Regions from separate parts of the Homo sapiens genome. Here region 1 is linked to region 2. Evidence: promoter capture Hi-C in 16 types of primary human blood cells and fetal thymus (Javierre and others, 2016). All regions are on one chromosome and are shown on one strand. Each heading gives the region's core, a stretch centred on a gene start or on the middle of the fragment in contact. The rest is flanking DNA. Distances are from core to core; before and after follow the strand shown. Region 1 holds the start of ZMYM1 (zinc finger MYM-type containing 1). Region 2 holds the start of ZMYM4 (zinc finger MYM-type containing 4).

The links. Contacts are between HindIII fragments. The CHiCAGO score rates a contact against its expected background, and 5 or more counts as called.
Region 1: a contact is called between a fragment that was not itself captured here and the fragment with the promoter of ZMYM4 in region 2, in 1 of 17 cell types (naive CD8 T cells). The highest score is 5.1, in naive CD8 T cells.

What each region holds. Positions count from the first base shown.
Region 1 is chr1:35,077,051-35,082,173 of GRCh38, forward strand. ZMYM1 (zinc finger MYM-type containing 1) reads left to right here and starts at 2,335. Exons shown (of 10, transcript NM_024772.5): 1 at 2,335-2,392. RefSeq lists an enhancer at 2,242-2,760. The HindIII fragment of the contact is 5,042 bases long and covers 1-4,968 here.
Region 2 is chr1:35,266,646-35,271,277 of GRCh38, forward strand. ZMYM4 (zinc finger MYM-type containing 4) reads left to right here and starts at 2,064. Exons shown (of 30, transcript NM_005095.3): 1 at 2,064-2,440. The coding sequence starts at 2,402. RefSeq lists enhancers at 1,754-1,813, 1,834-1,893 and silencers at 2,024-2,383, 2,454-2,583. The HindIII fragment of the contact is 2,104 bases long and covers 1,575-3,678 here.

The DNA of each region.
Region 1 (5,123 bases), core at 1,198-3,697, 190 kb before region 2:
TCAGGGCAAGAAAGACGCATGAAACTTGTGACCTACATCTACTGCTTGAAATATTGGGCCAAATTTTCAGATCTATCACTGGGGGTGGTTGGAATATCACATCTCAAAATTATCACACATCCTTACAATTTTTTATGATATCATGAATCCTACCATTTTTTCAACTCAACTCCCAAGGAAGTTAGTAATGACGATGAAACCACCATTGCAAGATTATGACTGAGACCATGAAGGAGATCTAACCTAATGGACTCCATCTTGGTTCTAACTTTAAACTGTCCTTGTTCCTTCCTGGGCATAGGCTAAACTAACTTTGGGAGGAATTTAGTTTATAGTTTAAAACAAAGACAATAACAGCCCTTTCCCAAAACAAACCTCCTCCTTGCCTGGGGACTAGACTGCCTTTATAAGATTAACAAATTAGCCACAAGATTAGAAATTATGGTTTAGGAGTCATGCAGCTGGAGGCCAAGATTCTGACCCTCCCTAAACTGCTCCTGAGACCAGTGCTTGAGATATTTTGCAGACCCTGCACTTGATGGATCAGCTGGTACCACCCAGATAGATAAACAGGCTCATCTGATCTTGTGGCCCCCACCAGGGAACTAACTCAGCGCATGAGGACAGACAGCTTCAACTTCCCATTATTTCATCTCCTACCTAACCAATCAGCGCTTCTGGCTCACTGGCTTCCCCCCACCCACCAGTTGTCCTTAAAAACTCTGATTCCCAAATGCTCGAGGAGACTGATTTAAATAATAATAAAATTTCAGTCTCCCGCACAGCTGGCTCTGCGTGAATTACTCTTTCTCTATTGCAATTCCCCGTCTTGATAAATGGACTGTGTTTAGGTAGCGGGCAAGGTGAACCCACGGGGCATTTACAATGACATCACTTGCCTTTGGATGCCCACTGAACCAGGACTCATTTCTGGGTTCCAATCTAATCCCAGTCACTGAGTTGCTGTGTAACTTGGGGCAAATTACCTTTATCCTCTTGCCTTCAGCTTTTCCTTTGGTAGGAAGGGAGCATTAGAGGAGAGATCATTTCAGTAAGGTCCTTTCTAATCCTAACAGTCTAAACAGATTATTATGAATATTAGAAGGTAATAATAAATGTTGGAGAAATTAACTTCAGTTACTCGTATAATATTTCAAATTACCAAAGGGTTTATATTAGATTTGAGGCTAATTCCAAAGGATATTTAAGGACCATAGCAGCAAGGATTAGGAGGCCCTTTTGGTCTGGACCTCACCTTCACAAGGGCCTCAAATTTAGATTTTTGAGAATATCTCCTTTAAAAGTAATTGTCAAATATGATTATAATAAGTTCATCATTCAACCTTATATATATATTTTAGAATCCTCTTATGCCTTTAGGAATAGCACAGTTAGTTCGTCCTATACTTTTTTAGGTGTTGAAAGTATTGTCAAAAAACATTTAAAATATGCCATTATTTTTGACATGCAGTTTGGGGTTATTTTAATTTTTTTTTTTTTTTTTTTTTTTTTTTTTGAGACGCAGTCTCTCTCTGTCGCTCAGGCTGAAGTGCAGTGGTACAATCTCAGCTCACTGCAACCTCTGCCTCCTGGCTTCAAGCGATTCTCCTGCCTCAGACTCCCAAGTAGCTGGGATTACAGGCGCCCGCCTCCATGCCCGGCTAATTTCTGTATTTTTAATAGAGACGGGGTTTCACCATGTTGGTCAGGATGGTCTTGAATTCCTGAACTCAAGCAGTCCACCCGCCTCGGCCTCCCAAAGTGCTGGAATTATAGGTGTGACCCACCACACCCAGCCTGGGGTCATTTTAATTTTAACGTACTAATGAAAGAAGTCTGAACTCCCTCCCTACCTCTGAGGATAATTTCCTTTTACTAGGAATTTACTCTGCAACTGGCACTTTGCTAACATTGCCTGTCATATTTTTTTTTTTTGAGTCCAGCTTCTGCAGAAGCCTGCCTAATGTTTACAAACCTACGATGCAGCCACTACAATTATCCCCATTTCAAGGTCGAAGAAATGGAGATTTATAGAAGTTGTCAAATCGCTTACTAGCACACAGCTAATAAGTAGTAAAGCCATCTCTCAAATCCAGGAAATCTAACTGCCCTGCCTGAGCTCTGAGTCAAGGGTCCTACTTTGGCTGCCAGCCAGCGACGACTTCAAGGGTAAGATCCTATGCGGGCCGTAAGGACTCTTCCCCTCCCCCTCTCCCACTTCTTCTATCCCAAAGTCGCTCTTCCCAATTCAGGGAGCTGGGACCACCCTGAGCCAGCGGCCCTGCGCATGCTCAACCGCAGAGCACGACGGGAGAGGGGCGGGGTCGGCGGGGCCGTTTCGCTTCGAAGATTGTTTCAGAAGCGTTGGGCGGGGCGTCCCTGAGAGAAATTAGTAAGCCTCCTCATGCGGCTCTGGTTTCGGTCTTTACTCCTGCGCCTTACTCGAAAGGGGCAGGGTTTCTGCTGTCGGTCGGAGGGAGGATGACGCGCCGGGTCGGGGTTTTAGAGACGGAGCTTTGAGTGCGGATTCCGCCAGATGGGGGTCGGGAACTCCGGGCCAGGCCCTGACGTGGATTGTGTTTGCCGCCTCCTTTAACCTTGCCCTCATAGACTGGGGGGGTTAGTGCTCCCCGCTTCCAGCGATTCTCGCCGCCTCCTGCTCCTGTGTAGTAACTGGGCCTTCAGACTTTAGTCTCGCTCCGCAGCCTCCGTTTCAGAAGCCCCATCACACCTGTATCTCTCCTTCATTGAGCAGTGATTTTTCAAAAGTTTGACTCCTGGCCGGGCGTGGTGCCTCAAGCCTGTAATCCCGACACTTTGGGAGGCCCAGGCGGGCGGATCTCTTGAGGTCAGAAGTTCGAGACCAGCCTGGCCAACATGGCAAAACCCCGTCTCTACTAAAAGTACAAAAATTAGCTGGGCTTGGTGGCAGGCGCCTGTAATCTCAGCTACTCAGGAGGCTGAGGCAGGAGAATCGCTTGAACCGGGAGGCAGAGGTTGCATTTAGTCGAGATCGTGCCACTGCACTCCAGAGCGAGACCCCGTCTCAAAAAAAAAAATGAAATGTTTGCTGAACCCCAAAAGCACAGTTTGAACGCTGCTGATTTACAAGATTAATTTTAAGGTATTTGGTATCAGGGACCTTCCTGACATGACCCATGTCTACTTTTCAAACTTTCCAGTTCCTTCTACTAGCACTCTTGCACTTGTACTTTATCTGCAACAACAGTCCCACTCCTTCTAGTTCCCATATATTTGTGCTTCTTTTTTTTTTTTTTTTTTTGGAGACTGGGTCTCGCTCTTTGGCCCAGGCTGAGTGCAGTGACACGATCACGGCTCACAAGCAGCCTCAGCCTTCCGAGCTTAAGCGATCCTCCCACCTCAGGTTCCAGAGTAGCTGGAACAACAGGTGCTCCCCACTACGCCCAGCTAATTTTTGTATTTTTTGTAGAGACAGGTTATCTTCATGTTGCCTAGGCTGGTCTCGAACTCCTGAATCGAAGCAATCCACCTGCTTGGGCCTCTCAAAGTGCTGGGATTACAGGCTTGAGCCACTGTGCCCGGCTATTTGTGGTTTTGTACATGCTGTCTCTATACCAGGAATATCCGCCATCATTGGTTGGTAGACACTTTAAAACCCAGCTCAAATTTCACCTCCCAGAAGACTGACCGTCTTCTTTTTTCATTTCTTCTCAGTACCTTGTATATACTTACTGGTTGGGACATCCTACTCATCAGTGTAACCCGGTACCAAGGCACTTCGGAAATGATGGCTCTTCATTGCCTGCAGAATTAACCATGGACATTTTAGTTTGGTTTGAAAAACATATAGCCTTCTGCCTCCAGCCTTCCCATCAGGCTAGTAAAAGACCTTGCAGAACTCAGTTGAATAAAATAATTTTTTTTTTTTGAGACAGCATTTCACTCTTGTCTCCCAGACTGGAGTGCAGTAGCGCGATCTCAGCTCACTGCAACCTCCACCTCCAGTTCAAGTGATTCTCCTGCCTCAGCCTCCCAAGTAGCTGGGATTACACCACACCTGGCTAATTTTTGTTTAGTAGAGACAGGGTTTCACCATGTTGGCCAGGCTGGTCTAGAACTCCGACCTCAGCTGATCCACCCTCTCAAAGTGCTGGGATTGCAGACAGGAGCCACCGTGCCCGGCCGAATAAAATAAATCTTAGCAAAGTGTAATGTATAAAGAAGTGGTATAATGCGAAGAAATAAGGGATAGGAGTATATCTGCTTCCAGACTCTGTTTTGTTTTTGCTTGTGTCCATACCACACTATCTTAATTTACTGTAGCTTTATAAGCCCTTCCAACATTTTTTTTTTTTGATATTGTCTTGGTTATGCTAGGCTCTGTATGCACATTGTATATACATTAGAATTACCTTACAAATTCCACAAAAACCCCTGCTGGGATTTTCATCTACAGCTTAATTAGGAGAAAAATTAATATTGACTCTTTCCATCAATGAGCATTTATTTAGATCTTCCTTAATTTCTCTCAGCAATGTTTTGTTTTCACTGTAGAGTTCTTTAATAGCTTTCATTAGATTTATTCCTATATTTGATATTTATGATGCTGCAGAAAATGGTTATTTTTATATTTTTCTGTTCTAGTATAAAGAAATAAAATTGATTTTTTGTTTGTTTGTTTGAGACGGAGTCGCACTGTGTCACCCAGGCTGGAATGCAGTGGCACAATCTCGGCTCACTGTAGCCTCTGACACCCAGGTTCAAGTGATTCTCCTGTTTCAGCCTCCTGAGTAGCTGGGATTACAGGTGCCCACCACCATGCCCAGCTAATTCTTTTGTATTTTTAGTAGATACGGGTTTCACCATGTTAGGCTGGTCTTGAACTCCTGACCTCAGGTAATTCACCCATCTCTGCCTCCCAAATTGCTAGGATGACAGGCGTGAGCCACTGCACCTGGCCAAAATTTATTTTCGAATGTCTTGCTAAGCTTAATAACTTGGAGATTCTTTTGAATTTTCTTTGTATAGAATCATGTCATCCATGAATAATAACAATTTTAACTGCCTTTTCAAAGTTTGTCTTTTATTTTTTCTTGCTTTATTGATCTAACTAGAACTTCTACTACAATGTTGAAGATAAG
Region 2 (4,632 bases), core at 814-3,313:
TGACTTGGCCTCTGTGCTGAATGATCTTGGACTAGTCACTTAAGCTCTGTGAATCCTTCTATAAAATTATGATTAACTTTTCAGTGCTCACTAAATGGTTTTCTCTTGTCTTATTCCTCCATATGGATGACTGCCCTGAACATTCATGTTATGCTTGTATATTATCTGAAATGCACAAATCCCACCTATTATTCGAGACCTAACACATTGCTAATACCTCCAGAAACAGTCTGTGTAGGACAGAGCCCTGAGGATCAAGATGTCTGTTTCAGTCTTGATACTGTTACTAATCCTGTGTGTGATCTCAAGCAAATCATATCTTCTCTAAGCCTCAGAGGCTTCATCTTGAAAATGTGGAGTTAGACTAAACTAATAAGTTTAAACTGTGATCTGAGAAACTCAACATTTCTGTAATGATGGGAGGGGGCATGAAAGGAGAGAGAGTGCAAGGGTGAAGCTGGGTGAATAGACTAGTGGGTTCCCCACTTACACTCCCAACTTAGCAGCTCCACATTTTAAACCACCAGATTTTATTAGAAGGGAGTATTCCACTGCCAATAAAACAGGTGGAAACCACTACAAGTTTTATGTAGCCACATTCCCTGGAATTATCTTTTCTTGGCTCCTCTTTTCTTTCTTGTCCTGGACATGGAACTAAAGGGAACATGTTTTTAAAATTCTGGCTGAAATGAACATATTTCTTTGTCCTTCTTTCTTCTCTCCTACCGAGGAGTGAAATTAAAGACAGTGCTAAAGGCATAAGCAAGGCCAGTATGGAAACTTCCAGCAATTTCACCAAAAGTTTTCAGCAAAATATTACAGATTAGAAAACATCTGTTTCAGAATAGCTACCAAGTGCTAAATAAAACAGAAAACAGAAGTTACATCTCATTATCCTGTGACTTCAGGAGTTATCATTCCCACTTGAATATGTCTTGTCATGGGAAATGACCTTCAGGAGGCATCTTCTTTGTATTTCTTACTATATGTCTCCCCACTGTCCCTGAACTATCATTATAAACTTAATTTTTTCTGCACCCAAAGCTTGTGGGAACTAGAATGAACAGAAGAGGAATGAATGAAGCCCTCATTCTTTTCAGCGATTTTCAGCTTAGGACCCAGTTTTGGAACAAGATAGACCCAAATCTACTTCCTGGTTTCCTGCTTAGAAATAAGATGCTTATCCTTTAAGGCAGATTGTCAAGCTCCTTCAATAGAGGTGAATGAGGACACCCATCATCTGCAAATCATTACATCTTCACAAGAGAATTATGATATTCTCCAAATACCATGAAACTTCAATTTTTAATCTTCTAGGGATATCAAATTAAACCAAATTTATCTCTCGCCTGAAGACAGCCTGGAGGACTGAGACTGTAATCTTGATTCCAACTCCACACCAGCCATTAGTTACATTGGGACAAATTCCTTCCCATGATCAGGCTGCAATTTTATCATTGGGAGCACTGGAGTAAATGGTTCCCTAAGATCCTTCTCCATTTTGATGTTCTAAGGATAAATTACTATTGAAGAAATTATTTCCAGTTGTTGGTTCAATCTTCAAAATCACCAAAAGCTTTGATTTTAAGGTGAGGTTATAGGAGTTGGCTCTTGATATTCTATGCCTTGTGCTTCAGAACAGGCAGTCGAAAGGGAGGAAAGTTGGTTTTCCTTGAGATGACTGTCTTGTTCCCTCATTGGTTTGGGATTCTTCATGTTCAGAGGTCCACTGAGAACTTCAGCTTACCATGACTTTCCCTCTTCAATGGTACCACTGTAGTCAGGTGTAAGATGGTGATGTGGAACCCTTCACTGACATTGCACCCAATTCTCCAGATTGTCTTTCCAGTAATTTCTTTCATTTCTCCTTCATCCCTGCGTCATGGTCCCTTTAAGGGAGCGGCCATAGTTGAGTGGTGGGAGCAGCTGCTGGCAGCAAAGAGACTTGCAGGATTTGGCCTACCCATGGCCACTTACCGCGCACGCTCAGGACCGGGGGCTTGGTGGGAAAGGAAGGAGGGACTTAGGGTGCGCCTGCGCATCAGGGGCGCGCGCAAGGGGCTGATTTGGTGATCCCTTTAAGAAACCGCAGGCGGAGGAATTTCTCTGAGAGAAAATAATCCTACTCACGGGGCCCCTTGGAGGCCATTAACCCCCCGAGTCCCGGCCCCCACCCCGTCCCCGGGCAGGCCCTCCCGCCCACGCGCGGACCCGTGGGATCTCAGAAGCTGCGGCCCGGCGCGCGGCATCCGCCCCCTCCCCACTCTCGGCGCAAGGCCCGGCCGGGTCCGGGGAAGCTGCCGCGAGGCGGCCGTGCCTGCAGTGTGGGCGGGGGCCGGGGGGCCGAGAGGTACCGCCGCCACCGCGCGGGGAGCCGCAGCGGTTCCGAGCGGGGCCCAACATGGCGGAGAGAGAGGTGGAGTCCGGCCCCCGAAAGAGGGTAGGTGAGGTGAGGCAGAACTCGGGCGGCGGGGGGCGGGGCGCGGCCCGGGGCCGGGAATGGGCCATACTCAGGTTCGTGGAGGGGTCGCCGAGGCCCAGTTAGGACAAGGTTGCGGGCAGGTCTGAGGCAGCCTTGGGTCCGGAGCGCGCTGGCGAGCGGTCCCTCGGCAGGTGGGACAAAGATTTGGTGCTGGGTGGGGGGGAGGGGAGGGGGCCGTTGTTTGCCTTCCTCCCCCCGACGTTCCCCAGCACTGGGGTGGGATATCTAGGCCCAGGGAGGGGAGGTGTCAGATTCTTAAGTGCATCTTTAGTGCATCTTTAGTACATCAGAGTCTGGAAGTTAACTGGGGAGAGGTCAGGTGGGGGTGGTGGTGGCGGGAATAAGTCGTGGAGGGGTCTCAGGAGAAATAACCGGAGGGTTCTTCAGTAACACCATCGCGAATTCATTTTCCTGCCTCCTTTCCCCTCCCCCCATAGCCGTTATCTAGACCAAAGTCGGGGTGGTGGTCTTACCTGTGAAGAAGTGGGATCGTTGGCATGTCCTGATTTAGGAGAAAGATTTTGGCTACTATGAATGTCATGTTCTAGCCTAGCCTCTTACTCGCAATTAGGGACTTGGAAGAATACGACAAGTTTTCTCATAACAGGGATGTACCCAATCAACCTGCAGAGGTGAAGCCAATTCTACATAGGAGTTGTTTGAATACCTTTTAAAGTTTGTCTGGAAACTTTCCTTATTTAATTCTGAGTGGTTTTTTTCAGATGGCGAACAATACTGTACTATCGATTGAGCAATATCCCTCACTTTTCTTTTACTTCCTCCCCGCTTAGCATGATAAGAAGTAAGTTTCCTTTTAGGAGTCTTCCTTTTGGGAATGGTTTCAGAAACGATCAATTAGCAAAAGGGCAAAAAATTACTACTTTATGAAGAATGCCCTTTCAGCTTAGCGTAAAATTAGTAATCTCGTAATGATGCTACAGCTGATGTTTTGAGTGCTTACTGTGTGCCTGGCACTGAGCTAAGACCTTTATGTGAAGAATTTAACTTCATAGTAACTCCTCCTAGAACCTATTTGCAGATGAGGAAATTTAGGTGTTGAGGGCTTAAGTAATTTACTTAGATCACACAGCTAGTTGCAAGGTTGAGGTAGGATTTGAATCCAGGTTTGTCCCAACTATAGTGCCTGTGTGGGATGCCACAGAGGAGTTTCTTTAATCTGTGTTTCTCTCCTTAAAAGCTTAAATTGTAAATGACCAAAGAAGTGTCAAGTATTATTTTTTCCAACAATTTATTAGGAAAATATTTTGAACTATCCGTCAATATTATAAAACTTACGGGGAGCAGTCATACACCCAACCGCCTAGATCCTACTGTTAACATTGCATTCCGGACATGCACAGCGGCTCACGCCTGTAATCCCAGCACTTTGGGAGGCCGAGGCGGCAGGATCACTTGAGGCCAGGAGTTCGAGACCAGCCTGGCCAACATGGTGAAACCCCGTCTCTACTAAAAATACAAAAAATTAACCCGGCGTGGTGGCGGGTGCCTGTAATCCCAGCTATTCGGGAGGCTGAGGCAGGGGAATCGCTTGAACCTGGGAGGCGGTGGTAGCAGGGAGGCGGTGGTAGCAGTGAGCCGAGATCGTGCTACTGCACTCTAGCCTAGGTGACAGAGGGAGGCACTGTCTCAAAACCCCCTCCAAAAAAAAAATTGCATTCCACTTGTTTTATCATATATTTACCCCTCTATCCCTCTTTCTGTTCATCAGTCGTGTTATTTTAATGCATTTCATCGTAGTGTTTTGAACAATAAATTTTTACCATTGATAAGTTTACGAAATGTTGGATTCACCTAATGCAATAATTAGTCATAGAGCAAGTTAAGCTGTATGATGGTATGTCCAAATAGTTTTGTAAGTATAAATGTTGTGTATGGAATGCATGTGTTTTGAAATTTTAAAATTTTCAAGTTGTGTTCAGTTTTGAACTAGATCCTTACTGTGCTTGGATGAAGGCATATGGCATATAGTCCACCAATGAAAATATACAGGGTAAATTACTTAAGATATGTAATGTTAATTCAGGGAGATTTCTGCATCCAGTTGCTGTGAATGTTGTCATTCACCTTCTGTACTAGGATGTTCTAGGATATTCTAGAAAACATTGATGTGTGTTGACAACAAATTCAAC